Linked DNA regions of Homo sapiens: regions 1 and 2 are each linked to region 3. The links are contacts of gene promoters, found by promoter capture Hi-C in blood cells and fetal thymus (Javierre and others, 2016). All regions are on one chromosome and are shown on one strand. The core of a region is centred on a gene start or on the middle of the fragment in contact, and the rest is flanking DNA. Distances in the headings are between cores, read along the strand shown.

The links. Contacts are between HindIII fragments. The CHiCAGO score rates a contact against its expected background, and 5 or more counts as called.
Region 1: a contact is called between a fragment that was not itself captured here and the fragment with the promoter of SLC17A7 in region 3, in 1 of 17 cell types (naive B cells). The highest score is 5.4, in naive B cells.
Region 2: a contact is called between a fragment that was not itself captured here and the fragment with the promoter of SLC17A7 in region 3, in 1 of 17 cell types (naive B cells). The highest score is 7.2, in naive B cells.

Annotation. Positions count from the first base shown.
Region 1 is chr19:49,078,559-49,082,916 of GRCh38, forward strand. It overlaps the pseudogene RN7SL708P. Among named protein-coding and RNA genes, the nearest start is that of SNRNP70, 4.7 kb to the right of the region's middle. The HindIII fragment of the contact is 3,625 bases long and covers 1-3,534 here.
Region 2 is chr19:49,095,956-49,100,518 of GRCh38, forward strand. SNRNP70 (small nuclear ribonucleoprotein U1 subunit 70) reads left to right here. Exons shown (of 10, transcript NM_003089.6): 5 at 2,472-2,536; 6 at 2,687-2,749. Among named protein-coding and RNA genes, the nearest start is that of SNRNP70, 13 kb to the left of the region's middle. RefSeq lists an enhancer at 3,961-4,563. The HindIII fragment of the contact is 8,758 bases long and covers 1-4,563 here.
Region 3 is chr19:49,439,109-49,443,812 of GRCh38, forward strand. It overlaps SLC17A7 (solute carrier family 17 member 7), which reads right to left and starts at 2,419. Exons shown (of 12, transcript NM_020309.4): 1 at 2,210-2,419. The coding sequence starts at 2,271. The HindIII fragment of the contact is 19,375 bases long and covers 1-4,704 here.

The sequences.
Region 1 (4,358 bases), core at 472-2,971, 360 kb before region 3:
TAATAAACTTGTGTTGTTTTAAGCCACTAAGTTCGTGGTAAGTTGTTGTAGCGGCAACAAGAAAATAATACAGTCAGACTCTCCAATTCCTCAGAGTCATTCTCTGAGGTTATGGTAGCATTTGTTTTATTTTATTTTATTTTATTTATTTATTTATTTTTGAGACGGAGTCTCGCTCTGTCGCCCAGGCTGGAGTGCAGTGGCGGGATCTCGGCTCACTGCAAGCTCCGCCTCCCGGGTTCACGCCATTCTCCTGCCTCAGCCTCCCAAGTAGCTGGGACTACAGGCGCCCGCCACTACGCCCGGCTAATTTTTTTGTATTTTTAGTAGAGACGGGGTTTCACCGTTTTAGCCGGGATGGTCTCGATCTCCTGACCTCGTGATCCGCCCGCCTCGGCCTCCCAAAGTGCTGGGATTACAGGCGTGAGCCACCGCGCCCGGCCTATTTTATTTATTTTTTGAGACAGAATCTCACTCTGTTGCCCAGGCTGGAGTGCAGTGGTGCGATCTCGGTTCACTGCAACCTCCGCCTCCTGGGTTCAAGCAAGTCTTCTGCTTCAGCCTCCTGAGTAGTTGAGATTACAGGTGTGCGCCACCATGCCCGGCTAATTTTCTTTAAAATTTTTGGTAGAGATAAGGTCTCACTATGTTGTCCAGGCCGATCTTAAATTCCTGGGCTCAAACAATCCTCTGGCCTCAGCCTCCCAAAGCGCTAGGATTACATGTGTGAGCCACTGGCCCTGCTCTGCCTTTTTTTTTTTTTTTTTTTTTTTTTTTTGAGATGGAGTCTCACTCTGTCACCCAGTCTGGAGTGCAGTGGCCCAATCTTGGCTCACTGCAACTTCCACCTCCACAGACGCGTGCCACCACGCCCGGCTAAAATTTTTTTTGTATTTTAAGTAGAGATGGGGTTTCACTGTGTTATCCAGGCTGGTCTCAATTTCCTGACCTTGTGATCCACCTGGCTTGGCCTCCCAAAGTTCTGGGATTACAGGCATGAGCCACCGTGCCCGGGCTAATTTTTGGTCTCAATATGTTGGCCAGGCTGGTCTCGAACTCCTGACCTGAGGTAATCCTCCCACATCAGCCTTCCAAAGCGCTGGGATTACAAGTGCGAGCTATTGTGTTGGGCCTGTTTTGTTTCATTTTCACTTTGAACTATTTGTAGCCTTACAGAAGAGTTGCAAAGATTGTACAGACATTTAAAAAATATCCATCACCCAGGTTCCCCAAATGTTAGAATGTTGCATTGCTTTGGCAACGTTTGTTAAAGCTCAGACATTGGCCGGAGCAGTGCCTCGCGCCTGTAGTCCTAGCACTTTGGGAGGCTAGAGGGGACGGATCACCTGAGGTCAGGAGTTTGAGACCAGCCTGGCCAACATGGTGAAACCCCGACTCTACTAAAAGTACAAAAATTAGCTGGGCGTGGTGGCGGGTGCCTGTAGTCCCAGCTACTCGGGAGGCTGAGGCAGGAGAATGGCTTGAACCCGGGAGGTGGAAGTTGCAGTGAGCCAAGATCGCACCACTGCACTCCAGCCTGGGTGAGAGAGCCAGACTCTGTCTCAAAACCAAGACATTGAGGTGGCACAATACTTTTGACAAAATGAAAGAGTTCATTCAGGTTTTCTATATTTCCACTAATGTCTTTTTCCCACGCCAGGCTGCAGTCGGGGTTACTATGTTGCATTTGGTTGTCATACCTCCTTAGTCTTCTGCAATCTGTGATAGTTTGTTACTTTTTCCTTGTCTTTCATGATCTGGAAACTAGAAGAATACTAGTCAGTTGTTTTGTAGACTGTCTCTCAATTTGTGTTCCTCTGATCTGTTATCTTGCTTGGATTGAGGTTATACTTTTTGTTGGGTGGGGGTAGAGAGAATGCCACAGAGAGGCATTGCTCTTCTCATTATATCATACTGGGGGGTGTATGATGTCCATATGCCATATCACTGGTGATGTTAACATTTTTTTTCTTGAGACAAGGTCTCACTCTGTTGCCCAGGCTGGAGTGCAGTGTTGTAATCATAGTTCACTGCAGCCTTGACCTCCCAGGCTCAAACAGATCCTCCCACTTCAGCCTCTCAAGTAGCTGGGACTACAGACCTGAGCCACCACACCCGAATAATTTAAATCTATCTTTCTTTCTCTTTCTTTTCTTCTATTTCTTTTTGTTGTTGTTGTTGTTTTTGACGTAGTTTGGCTCTTGTTGCCCAGGCTGGAGTACAATGGCGCGATCTTGGCGATTCTCCTGCCTCAGCCTCCTGAGCAGCTGGGATTACAGGTGTGTGCCACCACACCTGGCTGATTTTTGTATTTTTAGTAGAGATAGGGTTTCACTGTGTTGGCCAGGCTGGTCTTGAACTCCTGATCTCAGGTGATCCACCCACCTCGGCCTTCCAAAGTGCTGGGATTACAGGCGTAAGCCACCGTGCCTGGCAAGTTTTCATTCTTAAAAAGGGATGTTCTGGACCAGGTGCGGTGGCTCACGCCTGTAATCCCAGCACTTTGGGAGGCCAAGACAGGCGGATCACGAGGTCAGGAGATCAAGACCATCTTGGCTAACACAGTGAAGCCCCGTCTCTACTAAAAATACAAAAAATTAGCCGAGTGTGGTGGCAGGCGCCTGTAGTCCCAGCTACCCAGGAGGCTGTGGCAGGAGAATGACATGAACCTGGGAGGCGGAGCTTGCAGTGAATCGAGATTGCGCCACTGCACTCCAGCCTGGGTGGCAGAGCAAGACTCTGTCTTAAATAAATAAATAAATAAAGAGAGGCAGCCAGGCTCTGTGGCACATGCCTGTAGTCCCAGCTACTTGGAGGCTGAGGCAGAAGGATTGTTTGAGCCCAGGAAGTTCTGGGCTGTAGTGTGTTATGCTGATTAGGTGTCCATACTAAGTTTGGCTTCAATATGGTAACCTCCCATGCGTGGGAGACTACCAGGTTGCCTAGCAGGGGTTGAACTGACCTAGGCTGGAAATGGATCAGGTCAAAACTCCCATGTTGATCAGGAGTGGGATCATGCCTATGAATAGCCACTGCACATGAGCCTGAGTGACACAGTGAGACCCTGTCTCTGAAAAATCAATCAATAAATAGGAAGCACAGCATAAAAGTTTAGAAAAGTCACAACCTGGCAATGTGGTAGAGAAGGGAAGAGCATTTTTTAGGAGAGAAATAGAAGCAGGCTGTATTGCCTTGCTGGAGAGGTTGCGTGACTAAAAGGAAGCCAAGTGCTAACATCCAAGACAATGGGAAAAAGGCCTTGAAGGCATTTCAGGAGTCTTCAAAACAGCCTCCCCCATCACAGGCTCTGAGGCATATAAGGAAAGAGTGGTTTACTGGGCCAGATCCAGGGCCCTGTCTCCTGCTCAGCCTGGGGACACTGCTCCCCTGCATCCCTGCTGTTCGATCACCAGCCATGACACACAGGGTCCCAAGTACAGCTTGGGCCACCACTCCAGAGGGTGCAAGCCATAAACTTTGGCAGCTTTCATGTGGGATTAAGCCTGCAGGTGCACAGAATGCAAGAGTGAAGGAAGCTTAGCAGCTCCCACCTGGATTTCAGAGGATGTGTAGGAAAGCCTGGGTGTCCAGGCAGAAGTCGGCTGCATGGTTGGAGTCCCTACAGAGAGCCTCTACTAGGACAGTGCCAAGGGGGAAAGGTGGGGTTGGAGGCCTAACATAGAGTCCCCACCAGGGCGCTGCCTAGTGGAGCTGTGAGAAGGGGACCCCTCCTCTCTAGATCCCAGAGTGACAGGTCTGCCAGCAGATTGCACCCTGAGCCTACAACAGCTGCAGGCACTAAACTCCAACCTGTGTGAGGAGACATTGGGGCTGGACTTTGCTGCCCAAGACTTTGGGAGCCCACTCCTTGCACCAGTGTGCCTTGGATGCAGAACATGGAATCAGGGATTATTTTGGAGCTTTAAAGTTTTTTTTTGTTTTTGTTTTTGTTTTGAGACAGAGTCTTTCTCTGTTGCTCAGGCTGGAGTGTAGTGGTGCAATCTTGGCTCACGACAACCTTCGCCTCCCGAGTTCAAGCAATTCTTCTGTCTCAGCCTCCTGAGTAGCTGGGATTACAGGCACCTGCCACCACACCTGGCTAATTTTTGTATTTTTAGTAGAGATGAGGTTTCACCATCTTGGCCAGGCTGGTCTTGAACTCCTGACCTCGTGATCCATCCACCTCGGCCTCCCAAAGTGCTGAGATGACAGGTGTGAGCCACTGTGCCAGGCTAGAGCTTTAAAGTTTAATGTCTTCTCTGCTGTGTTTCAGACTTCTGTTAAGCCTATTGTCCCTTTCCTTTGGCAGATTTCTCCCTTTTATTTTATTATTATTATTATTTTATTTTTATTGTTGT
Region 2 (4,563 bases), core at 1,877-4,376, 340 kb before region 3:
GAATGAGAGTTAGCTGGTGCAAAAAAAAAAAAAAAAAAAGCCAGTGCAGATTGAGAGACCTGGCCATAGAAAATTACAACGCTCAGGGATAAGGTATGGCAAGGAACGTTTTTTGTTTTTTGTTTTTTTTTTCGCTTTATTGCCGAGGCTGGAGTTCAGTGGTATGATCTCGGCTCACTGCAATCTCCACCTCCCAGATTCAAGCAATTCTCCTGCGTCAGCCTCCCGAGTAGCTGGGACTATAGGCGCACACCACCATGCCCTGGTAATTTTGTATTTTTAGTAGAGACGGGGTTTCGCCATGTTTGCCAGGCTGGTCTCAAACACCTGACCTCAGGTGATCCGTCCGCCTTAGCCTCCCAAATTGCTGGGATTACAGGTGTGAGCCACTGTGCCCAGCCTGGCAAGGAACTTGAGGAGTGGGTGGAGAGAACGCTGAGATGGAGTTGTTTTCAGACGTTTCCATTTGTCCCAGATAGCGATTCCCTTAAATTGTGGCTTAGGCTTCTGTTTTCTAAAATATTCTTAGGCCAGGTGCGGTGGCTCACGCCTGTAATGCCAGCACTTTGGGAGGCCGAGGCAGGCAGATCACCTGAGGTCAGGAGTTCGAAACCAGCCTGGCCAACATAGTGAAACCCCGTCTCTACTAAAAATACAAAAGATTAGCTGGGTGTGGTGGTGTGTGTTTGTAATCCCAGCTACTTGGGAGGCTGAGGCAGGAGAATCGCTTGAACCCGGGAGGCGGAGGTTGCAGTAAGCCGAGATCTCGCCATCCATTGCACTGACCTTGGGCAACAAGAGTGACACTCCATCTCAAAAAAAGTACATTCCTTAAAGTCATCTTGACCTTAGTTTATACTTGTAGTTAAATTCTCTCATAAGAAACAAATCTGGCGGGACGCGGTGGTTCATGCCTGTAATCCCAGCACTTTGGGAGGCCGAGGAGGGCGGATCACCTGAGGTCAGGAGTTCGAGACCAGCCTGGCCAACATGGCGAAACCCCATCTCTACTAACAATACAAAAATTAGCTGGATGTGGTGGTGCACGCCTGTAATCCCAGCTGCTTGAGAAGCTGAGGCAGGAGAATTGCTTGAACCTCGGAGGCAGAGGTTGCAGTGAGACGAGATTGCGCCATTGCACTTTAAGCCTGGGCAACAGAGCAAGACTCTGTTTAAAAAAAAAAAAAATCTGAGACTTTATTTCTCTAGCTTCTGGCAACACCCACACTGTCTTCCTGAAAAGGTAGCACCCGAGGGTTCGGGGAAGGAGCCTGGTAGTTCAAGTGCCCGGGGTGAGAGGTGAAGTCTGCCTTGGCCCTTCGCCACTTTAACACCTCCCTTTTTCTGTGTCTCGAGTTTGTTCTGTTTTACTTCCATTTGCAAAATAGTAATAAATAAATATCAGTGTCCAGCACTGTGTCTGGGCCATAGTACGTGTTCAGTAAATTATATGTCTAATGTTCCATTATTGGAACGCTAAGCATGTGGGAGTTATTTATATCCTACTGCTCGGGTCATCACCAGGGTCTGATTTTTCACACGTGTCTGCAATTCAAAAAATTGCAACCTCTGGCATAAATGGGTTAATGTTATTCCTTTTCTCATGCTCTCCCAGAATGTGACAGGGCTTCCGAGGGAAACACTATACCATGGAAGAACCGGCAGAGTGTCCTTAAGGCCCCGGCAGGAGTCAGGGTCATTATGTGCTGGAGCCACCATATTTGGTGAAAAGGACTTATTCCCAGGCCTGACCCAGCAGGATCACCTATGAAATTGGTTTCTTAGGAGATTCCTGGCTCTTTTCTTTGGAGATTGTTATTCCTTAGTAGCCAGGTAGAACAGTTTGCCTCACAGTAGTGAGGCTGGAGTGAGAATCTGATCTGACGCTAGTCAGTTCCTGGGTTCCTTTTTAGAGACACAGGGCACAGACAGGAAAGCAGAGCTTACTTAGTGTTTGCTTTCCTGGCTCTCATTCTTAGCCTTGGGGCAGCTTGGTCTCAGGTTTTCCTGTGGGCTGTAGTTGCAGTCTGTGTCCAGTAGGTGGCAGTGTGGCCCTGCCTACAGGAGGGAGCTCAGAACCTGGGGGCATCAGCTGCATCTCCAGGGAGGCCCAGTTGGGCTATTACTGTTTGGATCACCTTGCATCTGGGAGCGATAGGGCCCTTAGGGTTTATGTAGGTCTGAAATGGCAGTTGGGCCTGCCCACATCCTGTCAGCTTGAAGTCAGCCTTACCTCCTCTCCTCAGCAGCCTGGATTATCTCTCAGCCACTCTGATAAAGCCCACTGTGCCTCAGAGAAACAGGTTCAGAGAGGGGCGTCCCTGAGGTTGCCAGGTCACCACCCATGTTCCTCCAGTTAGGGGCCTCTCCCAATGCCACCGTTTTCTTCTTGGCCTCTGCCCATCGTATTTGTTTTGCTACCTGAGACCATGGACACCTTCAACTTATAAAATTCCTTTCTTCCTGCACAGGGGACCCTCACAATGATCCCAATGCTCAGGGGGATGCCTTCAAGACTCTCTTCGTGGCGAGAGTGGTAAGTCCCCAGCTCCTAGCTCCTGGAACCCCACGCTGCTGAGAGCCTGGGTCTGGCACAAAGGTCAAATAGGCTAGGTACAGGGGAATGTTCCAGGGGCTGTGGGACAGCTCTGTTCTCCCATTTAACGTCATATCCATCTCCTTGTAGAATTATGACACAACAGAATCCAAGCTCCGGAGAGAGTTTGAGGTGTACGGACCTATCAAAAGAGTAAGTGGAGTGGGTCAGGGTGTTTGAATTGGGGGTGCATGGAGGAGGGGCTGTATCCTGAGAGGGAGGGAGAGAGGTCCCAGCCCTGAGCATGGCTCACACCATTTCAGGGCCTGGATTTATGCATCCTGACTGTATCTCCATGCAGCAGACCTTGGGCAGCAGAAGTAAAATGAGAAGTAATGACTGCTGGTGGTTGGTTGAGAGCAGGGGTTGGCAAACTACAGACTTAAAGTTTTCCTGCTGCTCAGCCAGGCAGGTCTGTTTGTTTACACATTGTCTTTGGCTGCTACTGTTGTAAGGCAGGGTTGGATTGTTGCAACAGTATACGGCCGTCCAAGCTGGAAATATCTACTCTCTGGGTCTTGGCAGAATACCTATGCTGAGTCCCGTTTTAGAGGAAGGCTTTGTTTTACCAATCTTCTTTTAAGTCACTGAAGTGCTCTGTGTCTGATTTCCTTTATCTAACATGGGAGACGCATGCCTTCACTGGGCAGTAGTGAGGGCTTGAGGCCATCCTACACACAAACTGATGTTAGCCATGTCTCTTCTCCCTGCTCTGTTTCTGATACGTCTTTTAAAAATATTTATACATGTCAGGCCGGGTGCAATGGCTCACACCTGTAATCTCAGCTCTTAAGGAGGCAGAGGCGGGAGGATAGCTTAAACCCAGGAGTTCGAGACCTGCCTGGGCAATATAGCAAGACCCCGTTCTCCACACAAAGGAAAAAAAAAGTATTGTTGGGCCAGGCACGGTGGCTCACGCCTGTAATCCCAGCACTTTGGGAGGCCGAGGTGGGCGGATAACCTGAGGTCAGGAGTTCGAGACCAGTCTGACCAACATGGTGAAACCTGGTCTGTACAAAAAAAAAAAAAATACAAAAATTAGCTGGGCATGATAGCGGGCGCCCGTAATCCCAGCTACTGAGGAGGCTGAGGCAGGAGAATTGCTTGAACCCAGGAGGCGGAGGTTGCAGTGAGCCGAGATCACACCACTGTACTCCAGCCTGGGCAACAGAGTGGGACTCCATCTTAAAAAAAAAAAAAAGTATTGTAGGCTGGGCGTGGTAGCTCACGCCTGTAATCCCACATGTTGGGAGGGCGAGGCAGGCAGATCACCTGAGGTCAGGAGGCAAGACCAGCCTGGCCAACATGGCGAAACCCCGTCTCTACAAAAATACAAAAGATTAGCCGAGTGTGGTGTCTCGTGCCTGTGTGTGTGTGTGTATGTGCATGTGTATATATGTGTACACACACACACACACGTTGTTCTGCCTTGCACAGCCCAGTGACAACCTTGGCCCCACCCTTGTCCCTCTGATCCATTCAAGTCAGGAATCTTGGTTGTGTTTTGGAGGCTGTGGGGTCCCAGGTTCATCCATGATACAGGTTGGTCGCCAACTGGTAGTGATGTGAATGGCGAACTAGCCATCCTTTAGGGACCAGCTCAAATGCTGTTACCTCCCAGAAATCTTCCCTGGTTCATTCTGGCCACCTCTGTCTCAACAGCCCTGCCTTGCCCGTTGTTCTCCCTGACATGGTCCCCAAGGGGTCTTTCTGACATCCAGAGCTGACCCCATCTCTGCTGACAGCATCCCATGGGTCCCTAGCATGTTAGGACAGGTCCAGCTGCCACCATCTGGCCTTCCAGGGCTCTTCCCCAAGCTGTGTGGCCTCATGGACCTCCACCCCACCCCATCTCCTCCCTTCTCTTGCTGCCATCCTCGGGATGGGACGCATCCCTCATCGTGCCACGTTCTCTCAAGCCTCCCTGGCTGTGCACGTGTCCTTTCTTTTTCCCTTAGAACTTCCCT
Region 3 (4,704 bases), core at 1,169-3,668:
GATGAGGAAAAACAACACTTAGGAGGCCATTACCCCAAATTGAGATGTCTCAACTTCTCTGTCTCTCCCTCTCTCTCTCTCTGCTTCTCTCAGGATCTCTGTCCACTCCCCCACGTCTTTGTCTCCTTATGTCCCTCTGCTCTCTCTTCTCTTCCCATTGTACAACTAAGGAAACTGAGGCTCGGGGAGCTGAAGTGGCACTCCAAGGTCACAGACAAGAACAGCAATGGGACCTGATCCCTTACTGGCCCTCGGCATCCCCCTGCCCAAGACCTGGCTCTCAGAAAGGAGGCACCTTGGGTTCTCATCTCTCTGGCATCCCATTCCCCCATGTCCTTGTTCCAAGTCACCCTGGGTGCAAGGAAGCTCCCCACCAGCTGTGGCATCACTCTTCTCAAGGAAGAGCTCTGTTCTAGGCTTGGGAGGGAGACTGACCTGGGTTCAAATCATGGGGCTCATACTCATCCACTGATCTCCCCAACCCCAGAATGGAGCCTCAGTTTCCCCATCTTTGTCTAGAGGATTAAATGAGATCAACCTGTTGTCTCTAATATGGGGTATTCCCCTCTCCCTCCAACCATCAGAGCAAACCCCAGGCATTGGAAGCAAATGCTTTTCTCTGCACAAACTCCCTGCTGATGGTCCTGGCCAGAGCCCGGGGGTCTCTGGGGACCCAAGAGGTAACTCAGAGAGTGAGAGCCAGAGAGATTGACTGTGAGAAACCCTAGCACAGATGAGAAACAGAGGCAGAGACTGAGGGAGGGGCCTGAGGAATACATCCCTCCCGCTGCCACCCCCCAGCCCCCTCCACCAGCACGTCTCTTTCTCTCTCTCTCATTCTCCTGACTTCACACTGATGTATTTTGAGAAACTCGTGAAAGGAGGCGAGAAAAAGGGTGGGGAGGGGCTGGAAAATTGGAAAAAGAAGGGGTGAGGTTATCTCAGCTTCCCCTCCACCACCAACCTCCGTCACTGCACCATCCTCCTGCCCACCTCCCCCCACTTCTGTCCAGCCTTATTCTTGTCTCTCATGTTACTAGAGGGTGGGGTAACTTTGGAGCTAAGAGGTGATCTGCAGCAAGCAAGACTGATGTTAGACTTAGCAAAGGACCCCCATGGCCTAGCGAGGTGGACTGAAGCTCAGCGAAACACAGGGTCAGGGCTGTGGGCCAAGGGGACAGGGCCTGAGGGCACGGCGGCAGGGGCATGGTGCTGATGAGGCCATCTCCTTCGTGCACTGTGGCCAGATATATTTTTAGGCTTTTCCGCAGCTGAGTAATTTATCTGACTTAGAGCCAAAGCTGGGGTTGGGGGTGAGAGCCTGTGGGGAGGTGTCCAGATTATCCTGAGGGACACTCGGTTCACTGGGGTCATCAACCTGGTTGGGAGGGAGTCCCTGTCAGCCCCAGCCTGTATCCTTTGGGAAGGCTGTCCTACCCCAGGAGCCGAAATTTTTGGCCTCTAACTCCTTTCTCTCCCAGGGACCCAGGGTGCTGTGACTTCTTCCACCCAGCCTCACCCCCTCAAGGACAACGGGCTATGAGCCCCAATCCGCTTTAGCTGCAGATTAAACTCCATGCCAGACAGAAACGGAAAAAGACACAGAGAGACGGAGAGACCCATGGTGGGAGAATTAAAACACAGAGACGGGGACAGGGACCCAGAGAAGTGGGGACCAGAGATCCAGGGAAGAGGAGAGACCCAGAAAGAGGGGGACAGAGACTCTGAGTCAGGAGTTGATAGAGATCCAGTGAGAGCAATGGCCAGAGAACCAGAGAGAGGGGCACAGAGACGCAAAGAAGCGGAGGCAGAGATCTAGGGAGAAGGAGGGGCCCAGAGAGAAGGGAGCCGAGATCTGGAAAAAGAGGGAGACGGAGACCCAGAGAGAAAAGGGGCAGAGACATCCAGAAAGAGACGGGGACAGAGACCCAGAAGTGGTGGGGGAGGAGCCAGAGACCCGGGAGAGAGGCATTTACAGCACCAGAGAGAGTGGAGCCGGGTGGGGTGGGGTGCAGAAAAAGGAACAGGATAATGGACAAGGCTCGACCAGGGAGAACAGCGCCGTCGGAGCCCACGGCAGAAAACTGGACAGATGGGTGGACCCCCATGCCGGGGTATCGCCCGTTCATCTGTCAGTCTGCGCCCAGGTGGGAATTAGCATCCTCCTCAGATCCTCCCACTCTTCTCCCGGGACCCCCGCCAGGCTCACCGGTGCAGCTTCCCGAGAGCACGACCCGCTAGCTTCCGAAACTCCTCCTGGCGGAACTCCATGGTGGCGGCTCCTGCCGCCGGTCACCCCGCGGGTCCCCCCCGCCGATCCCCCCGCCCGCGGGCCCGGGCGGCCGCGTCCGGGTTCCCGGGGTCCAGCCCCGGCCCGGCCGGCCCCGCAGCTCCGCTCGGGGGGAAGGAGGCTGCAAGTGCAGGCGGCCCGGGGGCTGTCACAGGACTCAGCGCCGGGGGCGGGGCGCGGGAGGCCCCGCCCCGGCCCCACCAGGCCCCTCCCCTCGTCTGTCAGACCCGCCCCCTCTCGCAGCCCTTTCATCCTCGTCCTGTCCCCTCCTGAGCCTTCCAAGACCACGCCTGTGGGTTCTGAACTCACGCCTCCGAGTTCACGCCCCCCAATTCTGTTCCTTCCCCAGGCTACTCCCCCTATCCCTGTTCCATCACCCCTGGCTCCTACCCAGATTTTCTCTCCTCTCCTGAGTTCTCATCCCCATCATTTCTCTCCCCGACTTCTGTTCCCCCTAATTGCGTCCCTTACAATCCTGTCTTCTCTGACTTTCCCTCTGCGTTCATCCTCCAGTTCCTTCACTCCTCCCCGCCCCCACCCCGCAATTCCATCCCCATCCCACCTCGTCCCCAGTTCCAATAGTCTCATCCAGGGAGTTCTTTGTTTTCTCATTCAAGGGAAATTCTTTCCCCTCAAGTCCAACGCCTACTTCGATCCACCTGTCGTCCCCCTCTAGTCCCTTTCGCCACCCGGGTTCTTCACCCTTGAGCTCCATCTCCTCCTTAGTTTCCATCTTTCCCCTTTGAATCCCATACTCCTCCAGCTCTATTCTCCCTCCGGCGTCTCTCTCCTCCCTGTTGCTTCTCTCCCTGAGTTTCATTCCCTAACCCCGATTTTCTTCCCTCTGGCTTCCGCCCCCCACAGTTATATTTCACACACCCCGCCAGTGCCAGCTGCGACCCCATAGTCTCCCCATTGTGTTATTTCTCTGCTCCTCTGGGATCTGTCCGCGCTCTGAGTTCTTCCCTAGCTCCGGGGGATCCATTCCTCTATTTGAGTTCTGTCTCCACCCCCTGAGATCTGTCCCGCCCCCTAAATTGTGATCCGCACCCCCTGGCATCCTCACCCGCCCTCTGAATTTGTCTCCTCCCCTAGGATCTGTCGCTGACCTGAGTTCTGCCCCCGCCCTCTGAGTTCTCTCCCCACCGTTGGAGTTGTGTCCCCTTCTCCTAGGATCTGTCCCTGGCTCTGTTCCCGCCCTCTCAGTTCTGTCCTTGCCCCCTGGAATCTGTTCCTGCCATCTGAGTTCTACCCCTTCCCCACAGGATCTATCTCTGCCCCCTGGAATCTGTCCCCACCCACCGAGTTCTGGCCTCCGTCCCTGGGATCTGTCCCCGCCCTCTGTGTTCTACCCCTGCCCCATGGGATCTGTCCCCGCCCACCCAGTTCTCCCCGCCCCCTGGATCTCTCCCTACCCTCCCAGTCTTGCCCCGGCCCCATGGGATCTGTCCCCGCCCTCCGACTTCTGACCCTCGCCACTGGGATCTGTCCTCGACCTCCCAGTCCTGCCTCCGCCCCCGGAATCTGACCCCGCCCACCGAGCTCTGGCCTCCGCCCCTGAGATCTGTCCCCGCCCTCCCAGTCTTGCCCCTGCCCCATGGGATCTGTCCCCCGCCCACCGCCTCCGCCTCTGGGATCTGTCCCTGCCCTCCCAGTCCTGCTCCCACCCCCGGAATCTGTCCCCGCCCACCGAACTCTGTCTCCACGCCGGAATTCCAGCGCCGCCCCGTTGGGTAGAGCCCGGCCCTTCCCTGTCCTGGGCCCGCAGACAGGGTCCCGCCCCGCTCCTGTCCTCAGACCAGCCCATCTCCCGGCGCTGAGTCCACCTCCAGATCCAGGCCCCAGGAGGGTGATCCTTTCCCCACTACCTCCCCGCGTCGGGCCGCAAATGCATTTGGTATTAAATTTTCATGATGCGGCCCGCGGTGGGGTGGGAGGAGCAGACGGCGCGTCGGGCGGGCGCCAAGGACGGGGTGGCCGGGAAGCCACTGACCGCCGCAGCCTCTCGCTTCCAGCCTTGACTGGCTGTGTCTCTGGGTCTCACAGCTTTGAGAAACCCCTGGGACCCCAGAACGGAGGACGCTGCGGGTCTGAGGCAGGAGGGAGGTAGGAACTGGGACTCGTGGGGCTGAAGTAGCAGCGCGGGAGCCGCTCACACGCGCCACCCAGTGGCTGCAGAGTCCCCGGCCCGGGTGCGGAGGCGGTGGTTGCGGCTTGGGGCCAGGTGTGAGGGTGGAGCAGATGGTGAAGAGGAGGGAGTGGGAAGCGGGCCCCGCCGCTGCCAAAACTTGGGCCTTTGCCGAAACCATCGCCATGGAAACCGAGGAAGGAGGAAAGGACTCAGCCGCACACTTTTTCAGGACCTGGGAATGAGTTACTCGGCCCCCTCCAGCGGCTCACCGTCCCAACCACAA